Regions from separate parts of the Homo sapiens genome. Here region 2 is linked to region 1. Evidence: promoter capture Hi-C in human tissues and cell types (Jung and others, 2019). All regions are on one chromosome and are shown on one strand. The core of a region is centred on a gene start or on the middle of the fragment in contact, and the rest is flanking DNA. Distances in the headings are between cores, read along the strand shown. Region 1 holds the start of EPHA2 (EPH receptor A2). Region 2 overlaps SZRD1 (SUZ RNA binding domain containing 1).

Region 1 (5,331 bases), core at 2,032-4,531:
TCCATTAGGGCTGATTATGTCACTATAAATACCGCGTTTTGGTGCCGCTTTATAAGACTCACTGAAGAACTTTCCTCCTTAGCACCCAGTCACCTAGAGCGGGAAAGACTCTGAGTCGGACAGGAAAAGAGGGAAGGGTGTGTCATTAAATGGGTGACTAAAAGCCAGGGAAAAGCCAGGTGGAACACCCTCTTGCCACCACCTGACATACCACTCCTTTCCATAGGCCTCTGTTCACGTCACATGCTGCAGATGAGCAACACCCTGCCCTATGCTCTCAGCCCCCAACTTGTGCACATACTGCTGGGCACACGCCCCACAGCCATCAGGGCCTGCCTGCACCCCTGCCGTGTGTGTGCTTGGATTCAACCTTTTGAGGCCACACATGGAAACCCACACTTGCCACCAGAAGGACCAACCAACACTACACACAGAGACTTTCACGCAACACAGAACTCGCAACACTGTCATTCACTCATTAGTTCATTCATTCAGCGGAGGCTTGCTGAATATCTAGTATGTATCAGGCACTGTCTGTTTTCTTTTTTTGTTTTTGGCTCTCGCTCTGTCACCCAGGCTGGAGTGCAGTGCCGCGGTCTCGGCTCACTGCAACCTCCACCTCCTGGGTTCAAGCGACTTTCCTGCCTCCAACTCGAGCAGCTGGGATTACGGGCATGCGCCACCACGCCCGGCTAATTTTTGTATTTTTAGTAGAGACGGGGTTTCACCATGATGACAAGCTTGGTCTCAAACTCCTGACCTCAAGTGATCTATCTGCCTCGGCCTCCCAAAGTGCTGGGATTACAGGCGTGAGCCACCGCGCCTGGCCCAGGCACTGTCTGTTTTCTACAAACATCCCTGTCCTCCTGCAGTGTGTCCTCTAGTGACACATCTGACAGATGGAGCCTGCAAGTGGCATGTAACACACATGTACAAGCAGTGGCTTCCACACAACTCACATGGAGTCTTACACACGCCAGTGTCCCTAGCCCAGAGGCTCCAATACAACATGCAAAACACTTATCCAAACCACGTACTACACACATGCTCACACTCATCCACACACCCCATGTGCCTGTCCACAGAGCCCTGGGCACAACACATGCCCTGCTCTCCACGGATGTGGCTTCCTGTTGCTGAACCGCATGTAACCCAGTAACAGCTGAGATTTCATGCGTGCTTTCTGTAGTCCTGGCCCCTGTGGTTTACATGCATGACTTTATTTGATCTTTACAGTAACTCTCCTAAATAGGCTTTACATCTTTCCAGGAGCAAACTGAGGCTCAGAAAAGTGAAATAACTTGTTCAGAAACTCATGGGCTGACTCCACATCTACTGTGAAGTATGGCACACTCACAAATACATGCATACACAAATCCACACTCACATGCACTCATACACAAATCTCTCACACCCACATGCACACTCATACACACATCTAGACACATCCACACAATCCACAAAAACACACACAGACACACACTCATACCCAAATCCTCTCATGCCCATGCACACACACTTATACACACATATACCAACACTTTTTTCTTTTTTTTTTTGAGACAGAGTCTTGCTGGCCCAGGCTGGAGTGCAGTGAGTGGCGCAATCTCGGCTCACTGCAATCTCTGCCTCTGGGGTTCAAGTGATTCTCCTGCCTTAGCCTCCTTAGTAGATGGGATTACAGGTGAGTGGCACCACGCCCAGCTAATTTTTTTGTATTTTTAGTAGAGACGGGGTTTCACCATGTTGGCCAGGCATGTCTGGAGCTCCTGACCTCAAATGATCTGCCTGCCTCGGCCTCCCAAAGTGCTGGAATTACAGGCCTGAGCCACCCTGCCCAGTCACATACAACACTTATGTCCATACACACACTCACACACAGTCATACATACATCAACACTCTCATGTCTATACACACGAATGCACATTCAACAAAATCTCACACCCTCATACACATGCACTTATTCTCACAGGCACTTGCACACTCACAGGCTCTCAGAGGACCAAGGCTCTCCTCCCATCCTCTTGGTCAAAGGCTTTAATTATCCCCAACGCCTGTAATTAACCCTTCCTCTCTTCCTGCAGGAGAGATGTCTGGACCCGCTTCCCAAGAGTAGGCACCAAGGCGAGAGGCCAAGATGTCCACATCCGGCAGAGAAGACCCACGTACCTGGGTAGCAGGTCCCGGGCATCAAAGCGAGGATGGGGTCAGAGAGGAAGAGGTAGGCAAAGGGAGTCTGGGGCCTCCCAGGAAATCAGGCCTGCCACAGTTGCTCTTCCTGGACTGGTCAAATGGTGATTGGCCAACAGGCAGCCGTGGGTGGCTGGGCAGGCGGGCCAGAGCAAATTTCCCGTTTGTTTCACTCACACTAGCCGCTTCTGTCAGGAAGGGAGATGAGCTCATGTCTGAGGAAGTTTTGTGAAGAGGCCTTATCAAGGGGCAGGTGGTAGGCAGGTGTCCTCCAAACTGTCAAAACCTATCAACCCATGCCAGGGTCGGGGGCCAGGGGTGCCCCTTGCCCCCTTCCCCAAAAAGAAGCAGTGGTTCAAGCAGAGACCACCAGGATTCAAATCCTGCTTCTACTACCCGTGAGCTGTGCACCCTTTGGGCATGTTGTTTCTGCTCTTGGAGCCTCAGTCTCCTCTTCTGTAACATGGGGATGATGACCCCTGCCTCCCAGATGAGAATTATTAATAAATAAGATAGTGCATGTCTGATCCATTCCCAGAGGAAATGAACCTATTCTCAGATCATAGTAGGCTTATAGGCTTCTGAACAGAGATACTCTTTTTGACCATCAGCAGCTTGATATACTCTTCAAGGGTTTTAGGAAGGAGGGCATCCAGGTCTATTTCTGGGCCACTCTCTCAGGCCTGCTGCTTAGGAGGCAACTGCTTATTGGACCCCCAATCCATTTCAGCTCAGACCTTCAGGCCAGCGTTGAGCTCAGTCGCATTGAGCTCAGTCTCAGAGGTGAAGGGCAGAATGGGTATGGCTCAGCGCAAAACCATTAAACGTTTCCACCGAGGATACCAGGCTCAGAGATCCCTGGGGGCTAATCCGTAGGGGCGCTGGCGCTTTGAGACGCTCAAACTTTGGAAGGCCTGCGGGGAGCCCGCGAGTCCAGAGGGCCCCAAGGTCCTCCTCCAAACCCCTCCGGACTTCCCCTCCCTCTCCTCCGGGTGCCAGCCCGGCCCCTTTAAAGACATTCCTGAGGGCGGGCGTTGGTGACGTCACGCAGGGCATGAATGAACAGGAGTCGGTTCTCACCCAACTTCCATTAAGGACTCGGGGCAGGAGGGGCAGAAGTTGCGCGCAGGCCGGCGGGCGGGAGCGGACACCGAGGCCGGCGTGCAGGCGTGCGGGTGTGCGGGAGCCGGGCTCGGGGGGATCGGACCGAGAGCGAGAAGCGCGGCATGGAGCTCCAGGCAGCCCGCGCCTGCTTCGCCCTGCTGTGGGGCTGTGCGCTGGCCGCGGCCGCGGCGGCGCAGGGCAAGGAAGGTGAGTGCGCGCGGCGTCTGGACCCCTGGCCCCCGGGCCCCAGTGCCCCCTAGAGCCCGGCGCTCCTTGACGCGCGCAACTTTGGAACCTACCTGGTGTCGCCCAGTCCCGGCGAACTGGAGTCCGGAGGGCGCACGGGCTGCGATCGAGGCGAGCCCTGGCCCCCACCCGGGGTCATAGGGGCTCCGGAGAATAAGCGGTTTCAGCTTGGTCGCACGGGCCTCGGAGGCTGCGGAGAAGAGGACGCGGCGCAGGCCACGCGGTTGCAGTCCAGGCGGCGACTTCGGGAACGCGTCCCGGCGGGGGGCGTGGGGAGTCCCCTAGAGAAGGGGGTGTTTGGGCAGCTTTCCGCGGGCTCAGCTTCTTAGTGACCTGAATTCACTAACCCGCTTGCCGAGGTTTTGCGGAGAAGGCATACTGTGCAGGCCTCGCATTTTGGGGAGGGGGCTCGGGCGGGCGGGAGCCCCCTGTCGAAGCCCCTGTTCCCTGAGATTTTCTCCACGCCCCCCTTCACCTCCAGTCCCGGGGGAGAGCGTGGAGATAGGTTCGGGCCAATCCCTGCTCACACACTCCTTTCCCTCCTTCCCAAGCCGCACTCCCGGGCTCCCGGGGCAGGTTAGGGGCCGCGAGTGCGGACAGGAAGTCCCAAAGTCAAGCGTTCTGAGCAAGGGTGACTCAGAACGAGGAAATGCGGCAGGTGGGGGTGCGGCCTCCCAAGGTGTGGAGCTGTCAGCCCAGGGCCACCAGGGAGTCAGGACACCCGGGGGTGGGGGACTGAATCACCCACCCCCGCCCCAGTGTTCCCGGAGCCGCGCCGAGTGAGGGGCCGCAGACTTTGCTCATGGCGCAGCGGGTGCGTGGTGGGGGTGTTGTCCCTCCGCTAGGGTCAGGGCGAGGATGGGGGCTCCTGCCCTGGCCGAAGACCTTCCTGTCCACCCAGCCCAGGCCAGCTTCAATTTCCAACAGTGAGGGCAAGGCTTCCCCTCCTGCCTGGGCAGAGCGAGGTTTCCGCAGGCTCCACAAGGGGGAAGCCGGGAGGAAACTTGGGCCGGTGAGAAGTTTCCTTCTTTTTTTTTTTTTTTTTTTTTTTTGAGACGGAGTTTCGCACTTGTTGCCCAGACTGGAGTGCAATGGCGCAATCTCGGCTCACTGCAACCTCTGCCTCCCGGGTTCAAGCTATTCTCCTGTCTCAAGCCTCCCTAGTAGCTGGGATTACAGGTGCCCGCCACCAGGCGCGTCTAATTTTTGCATCTTTTAGTGGAGACGAGGTTTCACCATGTTGGCCAGGCTGATTCTGAACTCCTGACCTCAGGTGATCCACCCGCCGCGGCCTCCCAAAGTGCTGCGATTACAGGCATGAGCCACCACCCCCGGCCTGTTTCCTTCTTTTTCTGCCTCCCAAACTGGGTTTGGAGGTTTTGCTGTTCTGTGTTGGGAGGAAAAGAGGCCGGATCTGGAGCCGTTGGGCAGTGGCAGGTGTTGGGGGTGGCATCCTGTCTCAGTCTCTGGAGTGACAGGGCCCGGGTTGGGGTCTCAACCGGGACTTCTGGTTGCAGGAGCTCATGGCAAGGATTTCTGCCACCCTCAATATCCGCCCCACCAACGTTTGGTCCTCCCCCTTCCTGGGGGACTGTGGTTGGAGAGAAGGGGAGAGACAGCTGGAATCACTATAGGCCTTTCTCCTCGGCTGCCCATGGGGGGGTGGGGGATTAGGCGGGTGCTTTGCTGCTGCAGTCCCCAAGCTGGCCTGGAAGCCTGGAGCTGCCTTGTCCTTGTCCCCTGTGTCCACCTCTCCCCAGCCTGTGTGATTAAACCCCACCCCCACACCC
Region 2 (4,785 bases), core at 2,268-4,767, 240 kb before region 1:
GCCTACCATTCCCACAGGGAACCAACGAGGGAGTGAGCCTGTGAGACTCAGCTTGCCACCTTGGCCACCACGTGCTGCCCTCATCACAAAAACCACACCAACCACTCCGAAACGTATCTGCTGGTCAGGAGCAGGGAGGCTGTCTGGCTGGCTGAGGGATAAGGCGCAGTGCAACGGAAGGGATCAGGAAGCCTGAGAGGAGCCAGGTACACACAGCTGCTCTGGGCAGCTGCCCTCTTAGTCTCTTCCACCTCAAGGAGCCAAAGCAAACCCCAGGCTCCAGGGACAGAGGATAAACTGCCTTCATTCCAGGCCCTCGCTCTGGAAAAAGGGGTGACGGGTAGCCTAGGCCTCTGAGGAACCAGTCTGTCATCAATCTTTGCAAAGCAAAGCTGTTCTTTTTCCAACTTTATTCAGAATGTTCTGCCTTCAAGGTACTGATTGCACACAGGAAATGTACCAGGTATAGTTACTGAGCTGGGGCCACCAATGGAGATGGAGCACTGCAGACCCCTAAGAGTTCAAGCCATGCTGGAGTGGGAAGACCTATCCACCTTCTGAACATACGAGGCAGAAGGCTCAGAGTCCTGGAGGCAGACTCTCTCCTGGTTTTCCTTGTGCTGATGGCAAAATACTAAACAAGTCTTCTCTCCGTCACTTCTAAGCCCAGGGATGCAATCTCACTCCCTGGCACTCTGCTTTCTTCTAGAAGTAGTAAGCCTGGCTGGTAGGGAACCACCCTGAGGGGTATGGGAAGGGGAAGTCGGTTCACTTTCCCTATCTCCCAAAATACTAGAGGTGGGGTTGGCACCCTCCCCAGGCTCTCCGAGCCTACAGAGCTAGCCCAGTCTCCAGGCAAGGCCCAGATGCCCTGGGACTTAGCTCGGGGAGGGAGGTATAGGCATGGGGTGCTCGTCTGTCCTGGCGGCTGCAGAGCCCTGCCCCTTTTCTGGGCGGCAGTAGGAATACAGAAGCTAAGCTCACCAAAATCCTATTGGTTAATGTTTCTAGTGAATTTCCCAGAAACATTTTTAAGTAGACTACCAAACTACCCTTTCTTAATTAAAAATTCATTAAACCACTAAAACCCCTCCCATGCACTTTTTCTTGCAAATCAGATATTTGTATAAACAAACAAAAATAGGAAGAAAAAAAAAAGAAAGGATATTTTCAAATGGAACTTACTTTTTAAGTGATGGAGACATGCACTTGGGGGTGGGTGGGTGTGAGTTTTCATTTGTGTTTTGAAATCCCAAATTAATGAGCATGATAAACTGTTATTGCTGGCACTGGCTTTACCCCAAGTGGCCAAGTGGCACTGTCTGACTCTCTGAGTCCTTGCTGGGTCCCCCCAACCTTCCCCTAACCCCCACCCTTTCCCTTTCCATTGACTTGGGACAGCCCTTGTCGATGTGCCAATCACAGTGGGAAGGGGGAGAAGGGGGGAGGTCACAGTGCATGGGGTTCAAGGTCACAGTGGGCGGAGCAAGGGGGATCACAGTGCAAGTAAGTCAGGTCGTTCCCTCTGCTCAAGTCCAGCTGTCTGCCACGGCAGTGCAACCCGTGGCGGACGACCCAGGAGGCGGTGACGGCAGCAACGGCGGCATCTTTTCTTGCCTGCATTTATCTGCGCTGTTTGAAGCCTTGAGACCCATCAGGACCCAAAGGCTGTCTGATCACATTATTGGGCTGCCTGCTGTCTTCGGGTTGGGAGATCCTGGTTGGCCTGAAAGGAAGAAAAGCAGAGGAAGGCCTGAAGAAGGATATAATAGATGTCCCCCATCATTTCTTTATTTTTTATTTATTTTTGAGACGGAGTCTCATTCTGTCACCTAGATTGGAGTGCAGTGGCACGATCTCCGCTCACTGCAACCCCCACCTCCTGAGTTCAAGTGATCCTCCTACCTCAGCCTACCGAGTAGCTGGGACTACAGGCATATGCTACCACACCCAGCTAATTTTTGTAATTTTAGTAGAGATGGGGTTTCACCATGTCGGCCAGGCTGGTCTTGAACTCCTGACCTCAAGTGATCCGTCCACCTCGGCCTCTCAAAGTACTGGGATTACTGCACCTGGCCTAGATGTCCCCCATCTTAAAATCAACTGTCCATATAGCTGGGCCCACGTCACTCTGGCTCCGCAAGCCTGCTTCTTTGGGAAGCTGACTCAGGGCACCTCCAAGTTGAGAGGCCCCTGTGAGCAGGCAGGGTCGGTGGTGCACATTCACCTCTAGCAGCTACAGCATCCTTTCCCCCTGCTCAGCTGCCATCATGCACTTGTAGGCAGGGGGAGTGCTTGAGGGCCCACTCTGCCCAGAGGCAGTGACCATGGATAGCACATGCTCCGCAGAACCATTTGGAATCTCCAGAGTGTTAGGCCAAAGTAAAGAACTGGAATCAAGAGCTCAGCAGAGGGACACATCCCCCGCCCCCCAATTCTTCCCTCCCACTCCTCTCCAAACTCTGCGGTTAACGGTTGACTCATATGACTATTTTTCCACCCTGGAAAGGTGAAGACTTAGAGGAGAAACAACAAAAAGAACAGGTATCTCTTCAAAATTATGAAGAGCTAGAAAGAAGGTACGCAGATTTTTTCTTCAAGTCCCAGAATACCAAACCATAGCAGCCCCTCAAAGTTAGAAGGAGGCCATCTTAATGAATACTGTTTGATTCGAAAGTGATAAACTTATATGATGCAACCTTTAATACTGCAGAGAAAAAAATGTTAAGAGTAAAAAGGAATTTAGAAAATTCACAAAAACATCACAGTGGGCATACTGGAGACCCAGAAAATATCATCAAAGCACTTATCTGGGGTACTTTCCACTCTGCCAGCCCAGGCTCTCCACATCCTATGCTCATTTACTCACTGAATTGCACAACACCTTGATAAGGTTGGTACTATTATTATCCCATTTTTTCAGATGAGAAAACTAAGGCCCAGAGAGGTCAAGTCGTTCTAAAGAAGAGGTAAGAGGCAGATTTTGACACAAGCTCATCTGTGCCTTCACTCTCTACACAACAGTGCCCCCGGTGACTACCAACCGCAGAGGGAGCATGCCAGCAAACTGCCACCTCCTCCCTGGCAAGGCTTTCAGAGCCCTCTCCAGCCAATGCGGCACAGTGAACTAGTGCCAGCAGGCTGGGATCAGCAAGTGGAGCTGCATGGTTCCTACCCTGACTCTGCTTGCTTCTCACTACTCTACACGCAGCCAGGATGCTCTCCTCTTCCCGGGTGGACTGGGACAGCCATCACTGGCCGGCCCTGCCAGCCACACTCACCTGTCGAGGATGGGTTTCTCCTGCTCCTCCTCGGGGCTGGCGCTGCCCAGGATCCGCTTCCGGGCCTCGGCGTACTCGGCCTCTCGCTGTGCTAGGGACTTGACTGGAAGGGTGGGCCTGCTGGTGGAGTTGGGGCTGCTGACCACACCGTTGCTGGTGGGCCTCTTGAGGATGCGGATCTGTGGAGGGGGCCCCGCGGGAAGGCTATCGTCCTGAATCACAATGGGCACTTTGGGAGGAGATTTGGATTTCCTGCTGACAAAGAGCAAACACAGCTTCACAAATCATGCTCCTGACTAAGGAGGCCCTGTCCATGTCCCACACCCACCTCTCATCACTTTCCTCTCCCTCCCTAATTCTACCCATGCATGATTCTCTGGCCTCTGACCAGACAGCAAAATTTCCACTCCTCAAGAAGGGTGTCCCAAAAAAGTAAGCTTGCGACCAGCTCTGACAGGCCACAGGAACTGCTCCTCAGCCCTAACCCCTGGCCACAGGGGCTGGAACGCCACCTCATTCTGGCACTTCTATCCCCATGTTCACCACAGCCACATCAACCACTATTTGGCCCTGCAGCAAAACAGTTTATGTCCAGAATTGAATGACGTCAGTTAAGATCCCAGCTTCTCTACGCAGATCAGAGTAGGACTGGCTGGTGGGGTGGGAGCCTTTGAACTTGGGGGTCAGCAGTGTTCACTCAGCCAAATCTTCCATCACATGCTCAAACCAGACAAACACTACAAAGGAGCCCACTACGCCATCCCTGCCTGGCATCAAGATTTACCAAGCCACCTTCTAGTGAGAGTGACCTGTGCCTCCCAGAGACAAGCTACACCAGACAACTGAATCCTCTTCAAAAAGCTTCTGAACAGAGAAACCTCCCTTGCCAGGGCTCCCTGGTCTTTTGGACAGCGGCGGGGCTGGAGTGAAGGATGCTCCTAGAAACAGTGCTTGGCAATGCTCAAAAGAAAAGCATTGTCCAAGGCTGGTGGACGCGTACATCAAGGCGATGTGTCCACAGGGAGAGGTGGAATGACAAAAAACAAAGAGGGACAACAACACAGGAAGGGAAAGAAACAAAAGCCACAGGAGGAGACAGGAACCCAGGCAGGAATGACCACCCGACAACAGCCACCAGGACCCTACCCAGAGCAGTCAACCAGCTTCTCTTCAGAACCAAACAAGCCTGCTTCCAGAGCCTTGGCTGTCAGGAGGAGTCGGGATTGGAGGAACTGAGCCAGGGTGGATGGAAACAAGTCTCGGGTAGGACACAAATGGTATGGAACGAGGACTGTAACCCAGGGTTAGCGTGGTTGCTGAGATGAGCAGACAGACAAGGAGCCAGCAATCTGATCAAAGAGGCAGGGAGCCAGGAAAACTAGCGGGCGGGCAGAGCACCCAGAGTTTCCTGGGGAATGACTGTGCAGCCCCGTGAGCAAATCCAGAGGGGCCCTATCCTCCTTCCTGTCCCTTGTACCTATGGAAAACCAACAGGTTCCCTAAG

The links. The method cuts DNA at HindIII sites, captures the fragments that hold promoters and counts their contacts. A contact is called where the count stands out against the background at its distance.
Region 2: a fragment that was not itself captured here is called in contact with the fragment with the promoter of EPHA2 in region 1 in 1 of the 25 tissues and cell types used here (liver).

The regions. Positions count from the first base shown.
Region 1 is chr1:16,154,019-16,159,349 of GRCh38, reverse strand. EPHA2 (EPH receptor A2) reads left to right here and starts at 3,281. Exons shown (of 17, transcript NM_004431.5): 1 at 3,281-3,502. The coding sequence starts at 3,418. It overlaps EPHA2-AS1 (EPHA2 antisense RNA 1), which reads right to left and starts at 4,135. Exons shown (of 3, transcript NR_187275.1): 1 at 3,595-4,135; 2 at 2,171-2,379. The HindIII fragment of the contact is 22,393 bases long and covers 1-5,331 here.
Region 2 is chr1:16,391,979-16,396,763 of GRCh38, reverse strand. It overlaps SZRD1 (SUZ RNA binding domain containing 1), which reads right to left. Exons shown (of 4, transcript NM_001114600.3): 3 at 3,282-3,536; 4 at 1-1,726. The coding sequence ends at 1,624. It also overlaps a transcript of SPATA21 not described here. Among named protein-coding and RNA genes, the nearest start is that of SZRD1, 27 kb to the right of the region's middle. RefSeq lists an enhancer at 2,840-3,746. The HindIII fragment of the contact is 6,209 bases long and covers 413-4,785 here.